Regions from separate parts of the Homo sapiens genome. Here region 2 is linked to region 1. The links are contacts of gene promoters, found by promoter capture Hi-C in human tissues and cell types (Jung and others, 2019). All regions are on one chromosome and are shown on one strand. Each heading gives the region's core, a stretch centred on a gene start or on the middle of the fragment in contact. The rest is flanking DNA. Distances are from core to core; before and after follow the strand shown.

The links. Contacts are between HindIII fragments. The study calls those that stand out against the background at their distance.
Region 2: a contact is called between a fragment that was not itself captured here and the fragment with the promoter of SDCBP2 in region 1, in 1 of the 25 tissues and cell types used here (hippocampus).

What each region holds. Positions count from the first base shown.
Region 1 is chr20:1,325,737-1,332,613 of GRCh38, forward strand. SDCBP2 (syndecan binding protein 2) reads right to left here and starts at 3,403. Exons shown (of 9, transcript NM_080489.5): 1 at 3,349-3,403. The region is part of intron 2 of FKBP1A-SDCBP2 (FKBP1A-SDCBP2 readthrough (NMD candidate)); the gene reads right to left. All of the region lies in intron 1 of SDCBP2-AS1 (SDCBP2 antisense RNA 1), which reads left to right. RefSeq lists an enhancer at 1-183. The HindIII fragment of the contact is 26,056 bases long and covers 1-6,877 here.
Region 2 is chr20:2,513,138-2,520,014 of GRCh38, forward strand. It overlaps a transcript of ZNF343 not described here. Among named protein-coding and RNA genes, the nearest start is that of ZNF343, 7.7 kb to the left of the region's middle. The HindIII fragment of the contact is 4,270 bases long and covers 2,002-6,271 here.

The sequences.
Region 1 (6,877 bases), core at 2,153-4,652:
GGCTGCTTTTGCTCTCCCTTTGGTTTCGAAAGCGTCAAGTCCCAAGGTATTTCCTACCAATTGTGACGTCACCCTTCCTCCCCCGTTTCTCACCCGTTTCTTGTCTGGCCGTGACTTCTGACCCAGTGTTGAGCTAAAAATGCCCCGCCCCACCCTACGCAGATTCACCCCGCGTCCCACCCACCAGTGACTGAGTGACTGGGCTTCTGCTGCCTAGGGAAGGGTTCTTGGCTTGGCCGGGCAAATCAATTCCCACAGCAAAATCAGACCGAAAGCCTGTTATGAGGGACTCAGGCAGTTGGATGTGGCGTATAGGAGGAAGGCTAGGGCAATCAGGAAGGTCTCCTGGAGGAAGGAAGAAGACCCTGACTGGGCCGTGTAGGATGGATGTTCAAGTGGGAAGAGAGTGTGCTATTCCAGGGACAGGGAGGCCCAGGCCTGAGAGTCCAGTTGCCTTCTGGATCCCGTTTACCTCGCAGATTATCCAAACTGGACTCGTGATTTTCCCCAGCTGTGCCGCGCCTCCCCAGCGGTCTCACTGAATCCACCCATGGGCTATGTCAGAAATCTGGGAGTTATCCTCAGCTCCTCCCTTTCCCTTCTGAAGCCATACCTACTTCTTGCCCTCAAATCTCTGTGACCTGACTTCTGGTAATGTTTCCATTCTCACCATCTCATTCTTCTCCACACTTATCATGAAGTTCATTTATTCCAGACTACTTTAGGTTGAGTCCTAAAAGTCAGCCTGCTAGTTCATGCCTCCATGCTTTTGCAGGTGCTATTCCCTCTGTCTTAAGAGTCATTCATGCCTTCTCTCTTTTCCTTGTTGTGAACTCTTTTTCCTCCAATTTAAAGCTTTCCCCCACCTGTACGCATGGAGATTGGCAAGCCTCCCTTCTCTAGACGACAGCATTTCTTGTATTTGCCTCTTCATCATATATTCCACAAGTGTTTGTTAATCACCTACTATGAGCAAGGCCTTCTGCATTTCCTAGGTTGGATTTCCACTGTGCTGTGTTTGTTTGCTCATCTCCCTCACTGGTCAGGAAATGTCACTCATTTGTTAACCCCCAGTGCTGAGCACAGTGCCTGGCACACAACAGGCATCCCATTACTATTTCTGAAAGGAGTGGAAAAGCAGGCACAGAGAGAAGAGAAAGCCTGATATCCTAAATATACAGTCTTTCTTCCCATGCCTGTCTGTGTTTGCAGTCAATAAGTAGAAAGTCTTTCGAAGAATAACCTGGGCCTGGAAAAGGAGAGAAACCATGGCCCTAACGAGTTAGGTTGAAAGGCTGCCTGGCTCCTATAATCTGACAGTGGAAGTTTGCTCAGTTCTGTGCTGATGGCTTCCCACAAGTAATTGGTTCCTCCGAAAGGAAAAGAACCCACCTAACCCCTCTCTCTCAGAGGAATTTTCCTCTCCCACAGCCCTTTCCAGATTTCCATCCCTGAGCTTCTGTACTTTTTGATATAAGCAATAACAACACCCACAACAAACCAATAGCTGGGCTTCGGAGATCAGCAGGGCTGACAAGGGGACTTCAGCCCCCATCTTTGAACTTAGAGTGAGAACACTCTTTGGAACACTTTGTTCCAAAGAGCTGAAGTGATGGAACTCCCACTCGTTCCTGTGGACAGCTCATCCGTCCTTTACAAGACAGTGCGCGGGAGGGAAGCGTGGGTTAGAGTGTCAGAGGAATAGCTCCTGGAAGGCCAAATTAGCCCAGGGATGTGGTGAGTCGGAATAGAAGAAGCTGTTGCTAGGCCACCAGCATGTACCCCCACTCCTCCTCTCAGTGCTGCACTGCCTGCTGGGGAAAAGCTGTGACTTCCTCAAGCAGACACGCCTGAACCCAGGCCCAGGCAGGGCAGGGTTCAGACTGACTGCTTCTGACTTGTGAGAGCACAGCATAGGCAAATCCCCTTTGAATGTCATTTCTTCCTTTGTAATCTGGATAACAATAGTTGCATCACAGTTGTCTGGAGACTGAAAGATTTTTAAAAAGAGTTAAGGTGTATATGGAAAGCATTTAGCACAGCACCTAGCACATAATAGGCATTCAGTAAAAGTTAGCTGTTTATTCATTGTTTCAGCGCTTACTTACTCAGCACCTGCTAAGTCTGAGTACTGTTCTAGGTATCAGCAGTGAAGGAAAGAAGACTTGGTCCCCAAATGTACTTTCTTTGGGGGAAGAGCTGGATAAATAGGCTTTGTGACTCTGTGTGCTGTGTTAGATGGTGGGAGGCACTGGAGAGAAAGAGCAGGACGGAGGGTCATGTCAGGAGGTTCAGAAGCCTTGCTGGCTGGGTGGGGTGACATTTGAGGAAAGGCCTAATGGGGTGGGCACGGCCATTGCAGAGCCTCTCAGGTGGGAGTTGGTGTTGTGTTTAGAGGACATCTGCCAGTGAGAAGCCAGTTGTGCAGAGAGGGAGTAAGGAGGAGTAGTGGGGAGGAAGCTGGAGAAGTGAGAGGGGCCAGATCCTGGAGGGCCTGGAGGTCATGGTGAGGACTTTGGCATTTACTGTAGTGAGATGGGAGCCACTGGGGGATTTGTAGCAGCAGAGTGCCAAGGTCCAAGGGTTATTTTGACAGGCCTCCTCTGGCTGATGTTTGGAGGATGGGCTACAGGGCAGGAGTGGGAGCAGGAGCCCAGGTGGGAAGTGATGGTGGTGGAATTGTCATGAGCTTGGGCCACTGTACGTGAAGCTGCCTGTCCAGTGCTCGCCCAGCCCATACCAGGCTCGTTTTCTGCCCCATTTTCTGAGACCCTGCTGAGGAGGGCATGCACTGGCTCCTGTGTCCAGTATGTCCTTCCATTCTCCTGACTTTGTGGGCTATTTTCAGTCTCCAGATGAAGAAACCAGTTCTTAGAAAGGTGAAGCCCCTGGCGCAGTTCCCCAGCAGGTGTTTCAGTGCTGTGGCAGGAAGGTTTTTTGATAGAAACAGCCTCAGGCCAGAGAAGTCGGCCTGAGCTGTGGATTCCTTGGGAGAAATGGGCTTTTTGCCTGCCTGCAGCCTCTGGTTTCGGCTGGAATTGGCCTTTCAAGGAGCAAAGTGTGGATCTCATCTCCTTGAGCACAGTCATGGGCAGTCAGAAGGCATCGGGGGCCCTCATGATGTCTGGGTGAAGAAAATCACTCAGCCCTTAATCAAACTTGGTCCAGGGCTGGGATCAGAAGAAGAAACCCCACTTCACACTTGACTGCTTGGAGTGAAGCACTTCGAAAGGAAGCTGCCTGGGAAGTCCCAGAAGGGAAGGGGCAGGGAGGGAAGGGGACAGGGTGAGAGCAGGTCTCACTCATCCCAATCCCAGCCAGGATTGGGTCAGGGCCCCCAGCGCTTACCTGCAGGCAAGGTGCTGCTCCACGACCTTCTCCAGCTGCTGCCGCTGCTGAATCTGTTTCCCTCCCTGAAACGTAGCCCTGTCTCTCAGCTGGCTTCCTGATCTGGGAAGGGTGGTGCCTGTCCCCTGTTCAGCTGACTCACCTTGGACTGGGATGGGCACAGGTGAGGGCTGTGGCTGGGTAAACAAGGCAGGTTGCCAGCCCAGAGGAGGCCTTTGGCCTTAGTCTGGATTTGGAGGTGGGATTAAGGCCCTCACAGCTGCTGTTCAGACGGTTATGAACCAAGACTTCTTGGCCTTTTCTTAAATAGCTCTAAATTTGGGTTGGACACCTAGTCCTGCTGATCGAGGCAGTTGGCTAGAGGGCGGTTTGTGATAGGTATCTAGGGGTCTAGGCCAGGATATTAAAAAGTGGTCATATCCTGTGACCCAGCATTTCTTCTAGGAATTTGTTACAGTGGAGTCACAGGGCCCATCCATCACTGCTGCTTCTAGTAAGGAAAATGTAGAAATCCCAAATGCCCATCTCTGTGGTCTGCTTGAATAAATCATTGTCTGTGGAAGATCACAGAGCTATTAAAGTCACTTAAGGAAGAAGGTATGAGGAAACATTTCTGAGATTCTAGTGAGATGTTGAAAAATCAATATTGTGAATCTCTTCTTGCATTTTGTTTTCATTTTTTGTAAAGTGGATGTGCGTTGAAAGCAGTCTAGGAGGACATACGCTAAAATGCTGAGTATCTCTGAATGGCAGCATTGAGGGTGAGGTTTTCAGTTTGTACTTTTGTGTGTTCCAAGGTGGTTTTTTTTTTTTTAAGTTAGCTTTTGCTCTGAATGCTCATGACTTTTGTAAGGGGGAAGCAATTAAGTTTGATTATTTTAATGGGAATTTAGAGTGGTTGTCTCTTGGGAGCAGACCTAAGGAGCTGTGTGCTGAGGTGGAGATTTTTTTTTTTATGGCACATTTTTGGTGTCTTAAATTTTGAAAAGTTTAAATGTACTACTTATTCCAAAAATAATTATATAAATTTGAACAGAAAAGGAGGAAGAATTTAGTTTAGATCCTGGTGGGTTTGGTTGGGTGAGGGTGCCTGTCGCACTGGGTGCCTGGGGAGGGACGAGGGACTCGTGTGCTGGGCAGTCCCATGAGGATTGACGCTGTACACACTCAGGGTGTGTCAGTATCTGGGCTGCTTCCTGGGCCAGGCAGGCCTACGTCACAGTTCCCATGACCCACCTGGCAGAGTTGCACTAGCCTTGGGTGTCAGATCTTGTGCCTGCCAATGAAGAGCTTACAGCCCAGAGTCCCACACAGGAAACACACAATAGGAATAATAACAAGAAAGACATTTGCCACTAATTCAGCACTTACTCCCAGAGAGCACAGAGATTCTACCCCTGGCACTTTAAAGGCATTATCTCAATGGCTTCTCATGCCATCCCTGCAGAGTAGGTGTGACTCACACCATTCCTCCAGGTGGGGACACTGAGGCACAGAGGCAAAGTTTCTCTCTCAAGTTAGCTGGAAAGTGGGCCAAGTTCATGTCTTCTCTTCTATGGGACATACTGTTTCAGAAAGCTGAGGTGTGGGGCAACCTCAGAGTAAGCTGTGTGGGCCTGAAGCTGAGGTAACGTGGGTGATGGACCCACCTTAGGTCAGGTGTCCAAGGCCAAAGCAAAGTGGAAAATAGAGATCCTAACTAAACCAAGCCACTCCTCCCCCACCTCACTTCATTCAGTCATGACCTGAAAGGGCCTTTATAGAAGAGGGAGGAGGAAGCAGGCCCTTCCAGGTAAGGGGCTTGCCTGTGGTCCCAGCATGTCAGCATGGAGCCCAGGTCCCCTAACTCCCACCTATTTAATACCTACAGGGACTCTCTTTCTATTCCCTCTTTGGATAGTTGCCACCCATCACTGACTTCCAGCCACCTGGAAATATCTTTCATTGGGCATGCCCTTGCTCGAACTCTTCAGTGGCTCCCTCCTGCTTCAGGGTCTGGGCTAAACTCCCAGGGCTGACATGGAGACCTCCACAGCCCACTCCCTTTATTACCTCCTCAGCACTCCCCCAGCACCTCTGCCTCAGCTGGACTGGGAGCCCCACCATTCCTGCCCCACTGCACACCCACTTCCTACCTGCCCTGACTCCATACCTTTGCCTGTCCTGCTGCTGCCCCTGGAACACCTTCTCCTGCCCCCACCCACCTAGCCACATCCACCACTGAGCTCCTCCAGGAAGCCTCTGGGATCCCCCACATCCATGTGGCCTCTCCCGCCTCTGACTCTGGATCAGACGCTCCTGTTCCATTCTTTAATAATCATCATCTTGTACTCATGTGTACCTTTTAGGCTACTAGTTAGACCCTAAGTTCCCTGAGGGCAGGGCCAAGTTATTAGCTCTACAGTGGTCATTCTTTTGAGACAGCATTTCGCTCTGTCACCCAGGCCATAGTGCTGTGGTGCAATCATGGTTCACTGCAGCCTCCACCTCCCAGGCTCAAAGGATTCTTCCACCTCAGCCTCCCTATTAGCTGGGACGACAGGTTCACACTGCCACACCTGGCTAATTTTTTTATTTTCTGTAGAGACAGGGTTTTGCCATGTTGCCCAGACTGGTCTCAAACTCCTGGGCTCAAGCAGTCTGCCTGCCTGAGCCTCCCAAAGTGCTGGGATTACAGGTGTGAGACCCCACACCCAGCCAGTTACTCTTTTCAAAATAAGGAGTGGAACTGTGCTCTGACCAGACAATATTTCTGCTTTGTTATATATTTGTATGAACAAGTCTAAAACTTTGGGTGGCCAGTAAACAGCACACACTCAGAAACTCCCTGGTAGCACCCATGGCACCCTGAGTAATCAACCACTAATGTCCTTCCTGCTGGGCCCAGAGGCCTCTCCGGATCCTCTCGTCATAATGCTGCAGGCAGCTACCGTCACCTAGAGTTGGCTCATGAGGTGAAGTCTCCATGCCATCTGGAATGGGTGCTCCATGATGGCAGGGGCTTGTCTTAACCCTGAGGCCTAGTACTATGCCTGGCACATAGCAGGCTCACAGTAAATTTTTTTTTTTTTTTTGAGATATGGTCTTGCTCTGTCTGCCAGGCTCAAGTGATCCTCCTGTCTCAGCCTCCTACGATCCTCCTGCCTCAGCCTCCCAAGATCCTCCTGCCTCAGCCTCCCACAATCCTCCTGCCTCAGCCTCCTGAATAGCTGGGACCACAGGCGTATGCCACCACAGCTGGTTAATTTTTGTATTTTCTGTAGAGATGGGGTTTTGCCATGTTGCCTAGGCTGGTTTTGAACTCCTGGGCTCAAGGGATGTATCCACCTTGGCCTCCCAAAGTACTGAGATTACAGGCGTGAGCCACCACACCTGGCCTCAGTAAATATTGACTGAGTGAATAAATGCCCCTCCTAGAAAAGTCAATCACAGTTAGAAACTTAAATGGCTGACCCTTATTTAAAAGATGGGTTGGGCTGGGGCATCCGATCTGAGTCCCAGCTCTGTGATGTTGCACATGTTACTAAAC
Region 2 (6,877 bases), core at 2,887-5,386, 1.2 Mb after region 1:
TGCGCCAAAGGACACTACTGGAAGAGTGACAAGGCAACCCATAAGAATGAGAGAAAATATTTGCAAATCATATATCTGATAATGGTCTAATGTCCAGAATATATTAAGATTTCTATGACTCAATAACAAAAAGACTAACAACCCAATTTTAAAATGAGCAAAGGACTCAAATAAACATTTTGAAGAAATAACTGCATACAAAACAGCCAGCAAGAACACACCAAAAAAATGCTTACTGTCACTAATAATTAGAGAAACACAAACTAAAACCATAATAAAATACCACTTCACACCCACTAGAATGGCTATGATAAAAATACTTTTTTAATGGAAAATAACAACTGTTGGCAAAGTTGTGGAGAAATTAGAACCCTTATACTGTACATTGCTGGTAAGAATGTAAAGTGTTCTATCTGTTGGGGAAATCCGTTTGGTGGTTCCTTAATAAGTTAAACATAGAATTAGCATTTGACCCAGCATTTCTACTCCAAGCTATATGCCCCAAAGAATTGAAAACAGGTGTTCAAACAAAAACTTTTATAGAATGTTTACATCAGCACTATTCAGAATAGCTGAAAGGTGGAAACAATCCGAATGTTCATCAGTTGGTGAACAGATAAGCAAAATATGATAAATCCATACAATCAAATAGTATTCAGCCATAAAAGTATTGATATATGGTATAACATGGATGAACCTTGAAAACATTATGCTAAGTGAAAGAAACCAGACACAAAAGACCATACACTGTATCATTCCACTTAAATGAATTTATATGTCCGGAATAGGCAGATCCATGGAGACAGAAAGTAGATTAGTAGCAGGGTCTAGTGGAAAGGTGAAATGCAAAATGACCACTTAATGGGCACAGGATTCCCTTTTGGGGCGATGAAAATATTCTGGAATTGCCATAACGGGATGTCTTAATTGGAGAATCACATAAAAGGAAAAAGAAGTTTTAAAATGAGAAAATAAATAGAAAAAGAACAACAAAAAATGAAAACGTTCTGGAATTAGATAATGGTGATGGTTGGGCAATATTGTGAATGTACTGAATGACTCTGTGTAACTTAAAATGGTTAAAATGCTTAAATGTGAAATTTCTTCTATTAGAATGAATTGAGATAAATATCACCTTTATATGAGCTAAAAGCCAAAGAACACACATTTGCCTCAACTGCACTTTTCTTCTGTAAGTAAGACCAAATTAAATGTAGCTAGGGAGCATTTATGAAAATGAGCTTGAATCGCCTGTGTTCTCAAAAGAATCTTCAAAAGGATTCAAAAGTACTTAAGATGCTCAAAACTTCAAAGATCTTAGAATTTCTCTTATTGGGAGTTATAAGCAATTATAGTGAATCAAAGCAGTATTTGTGTAAATGAGCCCATAGCCATACATGTTCTCAAAGAACCTTCTCGTTGCTAGTCAAATCAAAGTAAGATGAATCCAGTCAGTATTTGTAAAAATAAGCAGTCTAATTTAAAGCTCAATATTATATATATCTTTTAAAAAATTTTTGTAAGACTAATACTGTGTGTTTAATGAATTAGAAGCCAAAGCAGGCCAGGCATGGTGGCTCACGTCTGTAGTTCCAGCACTTTGGGAGGCCAAGGCAGGCAGATCACTTGAAGCCAGGAGTTGAAGACCAGCCTGGCTAATATGGCGAAACCCCATCTCTACTAAGAATATTAATACAAAAATTTAGCCAAATTTGGTGGCATGCACCCATAGTCCCAGCTACTCAAGAGGCTGAGGCACGAGAATTGCTTGAACTCAGGAGGCGGAGGTTGCAGTGAGCCAAGTGAGCTGAGATTGCACCACTGCACTGCACTCCAGCCTGGGTGACAGAGCGAGACATTGTATCAAAAAAAAAAAAGAAGAAGAAGAAGAAAGAAGAAGGAAGGAAGGAGAAGAAGGAAGGAAGGAGAAGGAAGAAGAAGAAAGAGAAGAAGAAGCCAAATCAGAAAAAGAAAGGAAAAAAAGACTAATACTGCAGTGTTAGTAAACACAAGTTCAGACATTTTACTAGATTTACTGCTGATTAGAATACATTGATATTAATGTAAACTTTAAACAAACCAGGTGATAAAGACACCTTCGTCTTATTATTTGTCAGAGCTATTTATGATATTTGTGAAAATGAGTTCTGAATCCCATATTGGTTTTTTTCTTTTTTAGCCTCAATATATTACCACATTAAGAATCCCATATTGTTCTTAATAAATTTACAAATGTAGTCAGAAGCATTCAAAATATGTATTGTTATATGGAGGAATTACAATGACTCAGCAGGATTTGTGAAATCAGCTCAGAATTGTTCTCCAAAGAATCTTAAAAAATATTCCAAAAAATATTCCAAAAGCATTCAAAAGTACTCCAACTCTAACTTCTTTTTTGAACTACTACTGCTAAATAGATAACTAGTGATAACTTGAGACACATGTATGTCCTGGAGCTTCTCTTTTACATACTGTAGTTATTCTAATTATGTCTAGTTACCTAGTTAGTATGGGTTATCTTGTTATCTCTACTTGTCAGTAGTTCTTACTAGTTATATGAACAAGAAATAAGCTGTAGTTAACAGAAATGTATGGTTGAGGGTCTTTGCTTAACCCTTACCCTTGACTTTGATCTTGGGCATGAACTTCAACCTTAGACTTCGAGGTTCAACATGAGAGTGAGAGACAGGCTCAGGTGATGGTACCAGAGTGAGCGTCACACAGTCAGGGCGATGATCCGTATCTGCATCATCAGGAGGATTGGAGTAAGGATGAGTGTCAGGGTCAGCGGCTGTGAAAGGAGGAGGGGAGTCAGACTCAGAGTGAGATTGAGGGTCAAGGTCAGAGTCAGAAAGGGGTGAATGTGAGGGTGAATGTCAGGGCCAGATTGAAAGTGAGAGTGATGGTCAGATTGAGGTGATGAAGTGAGAATGGGGGCTAGGGTGAGGGTGAGGTTGAGAATTAGGGTGATGATCAAGGTTGGGGTTTGGGAGAGAGCAGGCTGAGTGTTTGGTTCAGGTCGGAATCAAGGTGAGGATGAGAGTCGGGGTCACAGAGATGTTAAGGATGTGATTTAGAAGCCAAATGTCCTGGTGCATGCCTGTAATCCCAACTACTCAGGAGGCTGAGGATTGCTTGAGTCCAACAATTAGAGGCCAGCCTGGGCAATGGAGCGAGACCCTGTCTTCAAAAAGGGAGGGGATTGTGATTTAGGGTAAAGGTGGGGCCAGAGTGATGCTGTGAGGGTCAGAGTCACTGTTAATGTCAGGCTGAGGGTGAGGGTTAGTGTTTGATTTAGGATCAGAGTAGGTCCCAGTGAGGATTAAAGTCAGAGTGAGAGCAAGTGCACAGTGAGTGTGAGCGTGGGCATGAGAGTGAGATCAAGGTCAGTGTCAAAGTAAGAGTCCATCTGAGGAATAAACTCAGAGTGAGGATGAGTGAGCAGGGTAGGGTCAGGACAACAGTGATGATGAGGGTCTGGTTTAGCGTCAAGGGCAAGTGTCAAGATGAAACTGAGGGTCAGGGTGAAGGTGAGAGTGAGGGAGAGTGAGGTCTAGCTGAGGATGAAAGGGAGATTGAGAAAGAGAGAGTCAAGTGCAATTCAGGTCCAGTGTATGAGGCTTAGGTCAGGTTTAAGGCAAGGGTTGGGATAAGGGTTATGATCACATTGAGGGTCAGGTTGAGGATAAAGGTCAGGCTCAAGGCCAGAAAGTGTTAGGGTAAAGGTGGGCGTGAGGTTCAGGGTCAAGGAGAAGATGAGAGTGAGTTGACATTGAGGATGTCCTTCATGATTAGTGTCACTGTCACGGTCATTACTTTTTGTGACTTACAACAAATCTGGATGAACCTAGTCAATTTAAGTCAGAATCATACATTCATATCTAAGGTAACTCACTATGGTGAATTCAATCAGATGTATATGAAAGTAAGCAGAATACTTGAAAACAGCAAACCATGCTTCCAACTAAGGTTCAAGTCCAGGTTTGGGAATATTTCAAATGATATGTTTCATTGTGCATTAGAGCATATTTAAATGAAACCAAGCTGTTTATGTCAAACGAGCTCAGAATCTATCATTCTTCCTGAATGAGACTGAGTGCTCCAGAGAAATAGAAGCAACAGAATTTGTATGTGTTTATGTATTTGTATATGTATATGTATACACACACACAGGTATATATACAAATATACACACACATATATACACATTCAGCCAATGTATATGTGTGTATATATATATACACACATATATAGCTGATGTATATGTATATATATACACACATATACATATACCAGGAGAGCCGATGGTGCAGTTCCAGTCCAAAGGGGCAGCCTGCTGAAGAATTCCCTCTGGTCTTTTTTTTTTTTCTTTTTTGAGATAGGGTCTTACTCTGCACTCTGTCACCCAGGCTAGAGTGCAGTGGCATCATCATGGCTCACTGCAGCCTCGACCTCCTGGGCTCAAGCAGTCCTCCCACCTCAGCCTTCCAAGTAACTGGGACTACAGGCACACACCACCATGCCTGGCTAGTTATTAATTTTTTTTTTTTGTAGAGATGGGGTCCCCCTCTGTCACCCAGGCTGGTCTTGAACTCCTGGCCTCAAGTGATCCTCTCACCTCAGCCTCCCAAAGTGCTGGGATTAAAGGAGTGAGCCGTTGCCCTTGGCCTCAATTTGTTATTGCTTATTAGAATAAATTGACATGAAAGTAAGCTTTAATAATAATAATAATAAAAGATGAGAAACACACCGTCATCAAAACTGTACTTAGAGCTAAGACAAATGGAAACATTATATGTGAAAGACATCTCAAAATCACATATTGTCCTTAATAAAATTTTAAAAGTACTCAAAGGTTTATTTTTTTTTCCTTTTTTCTCTCTTTTTTTTTTTCGAGACAGAGTCTCACTCTGTTACCCAGGCTGGAGTGCAGTGGCTCGATCTCGGCTCACTGTAACCTCTGCCTCCCAGGCTCAAGTGATTCCCCTTCCTCAGCTTTCTGAGTAGCTGGGATTACAGGCGCGTGCCACCACGTCTGGCTACCTTTTTGTATTTTTTTAGTAGAGACGTAGTTTCGCCATGTTGACCAGGCTTGTCTTGAACTCCTGAACTCAGACAGTTTGCCGACCTTGGCCTCCCAGAGTGTTAGAATTACAGGCGTGAGCCACCGCGCCCAGCCTCAAAGATTTATTTCTATTTGGGAGAATTATAATGAATCAAAAGCAGTATTCGTGTAAATGAGCTCATTGTCACATTGCTCTTAAAAGATCCTTCTTATTGCCAGTTAGAGCAAATTAAGTAGAATCTAGAATTCTGAAGCCAACATAGAATCACTAACTGTTGTCAAATAATCTTTTGTACTCCAAAGTACTCCAAAATACACAATAGTACTCACAAGTGCCAGACTCTAACTTCTGATTTCTAAATAGCTACCCCTCCGGTTCCACACTCACTCACAACCTACAACCCTCCCTTACAGACACTACCTTCCAACATACCACATGCTCTCAGCCCCGTGTCCACTTCCCTACACCACTTGCTTCACATCCACTCAATACCTATGCTCTGACAATCACCCACACACCACCTACCTCTCCCCTGTAAACCATTCAGTGCCTACCCTTGCAGCCCACACCCACTGATAATGGTTTGGCTCTGTGTTCCTACCCAAATCTCATCTCGAATTGTAATCCCCACATGTCAGGGGAGGGACCTGGTGGAAGGCGATTGGCTCATGGGGGTGGTTTCATCCATGCTGTCCTCATGATAGTGAGTTCTCACAAGATCTGATGGTTTAAAAGTGTTTGGCAGTTCCCTGCCCCCCTCTCTCTTTCCTGCCATCGTGTAAGACATGCCTTGCTTCCCCTTCACCTTCCACCATGATTGTAAGTTTCCTGAGGCCTACCCAGCCATGTGCAACTGTGAGTCAATTAAACCTCTTTCCTTTTTAAATTACCCAGTCTTGGGTAGTTCTTTATAGTAGTGTGAAAATGGACTAATCCACCCATTCACTACTTTCTGACCCATACTCATTCTCTACTTACTCCCTCAAATACCCCGTGACCTACCCCACATTACATACCAACTCACTACCCACACCCTGCCACAGACTCCTTTACTACGCTCTCATAATGATTCTGACACTGACACCCTAATCCTGACTGTGACACTGACTCTCCCTCTGACCCTGTACCTCCAGCTCACTCTCACACTCACTCTGGTCCTAACCATGAACCTGACCTTCACACTCACACTGACTCTGGACTTCGCCTTCAGATTTGCCTCACCTCACTGAATAGAACAAAAAGACCAGCCTCCTTGAACAAGAGGAAATTCTTCAGCAGACTGCCTTTAGACTGGAACTGCACCATTGGCTCCCCTGGGGCTCCAGCCTGCCAGCCTCCATAATTGTGTGAAGCAATTCCTTATACTAAATCTCCATATGTGTGTGTGCATGTGTGTGTATACGCATATACATACACATTCTATTGGTTCTGTTTCTCTGGAGAACCCTGACTCATTCAGGAAAAATGATAGATTCTGAACTCATTTGACATAAACAGCTTGGTTTCATCTAAATATGCTCTAACACACAATGGACATTTCATTTGAGATGTTCCTGAACCTGGACCTGAACCTTAGTTGAAAGTGTGATTTCCTGCCTGTTTTCAACTGTTCTGTTTAGTTTCACATATATTTAATTGAATTCACCATAGGGAGATGACTCTGATTTAAATTGCCTAGGTTCATCCTAATTTGTTGTAAGTCACAAAAAAATAAGGAAATTTAGAGAACAAGGTGTGATTGTAAGATTATTTTCTCTAATACTGCTTAGATTCATGTAATTTGGCTCTAAGTTATTTTTATCTGCTCTATC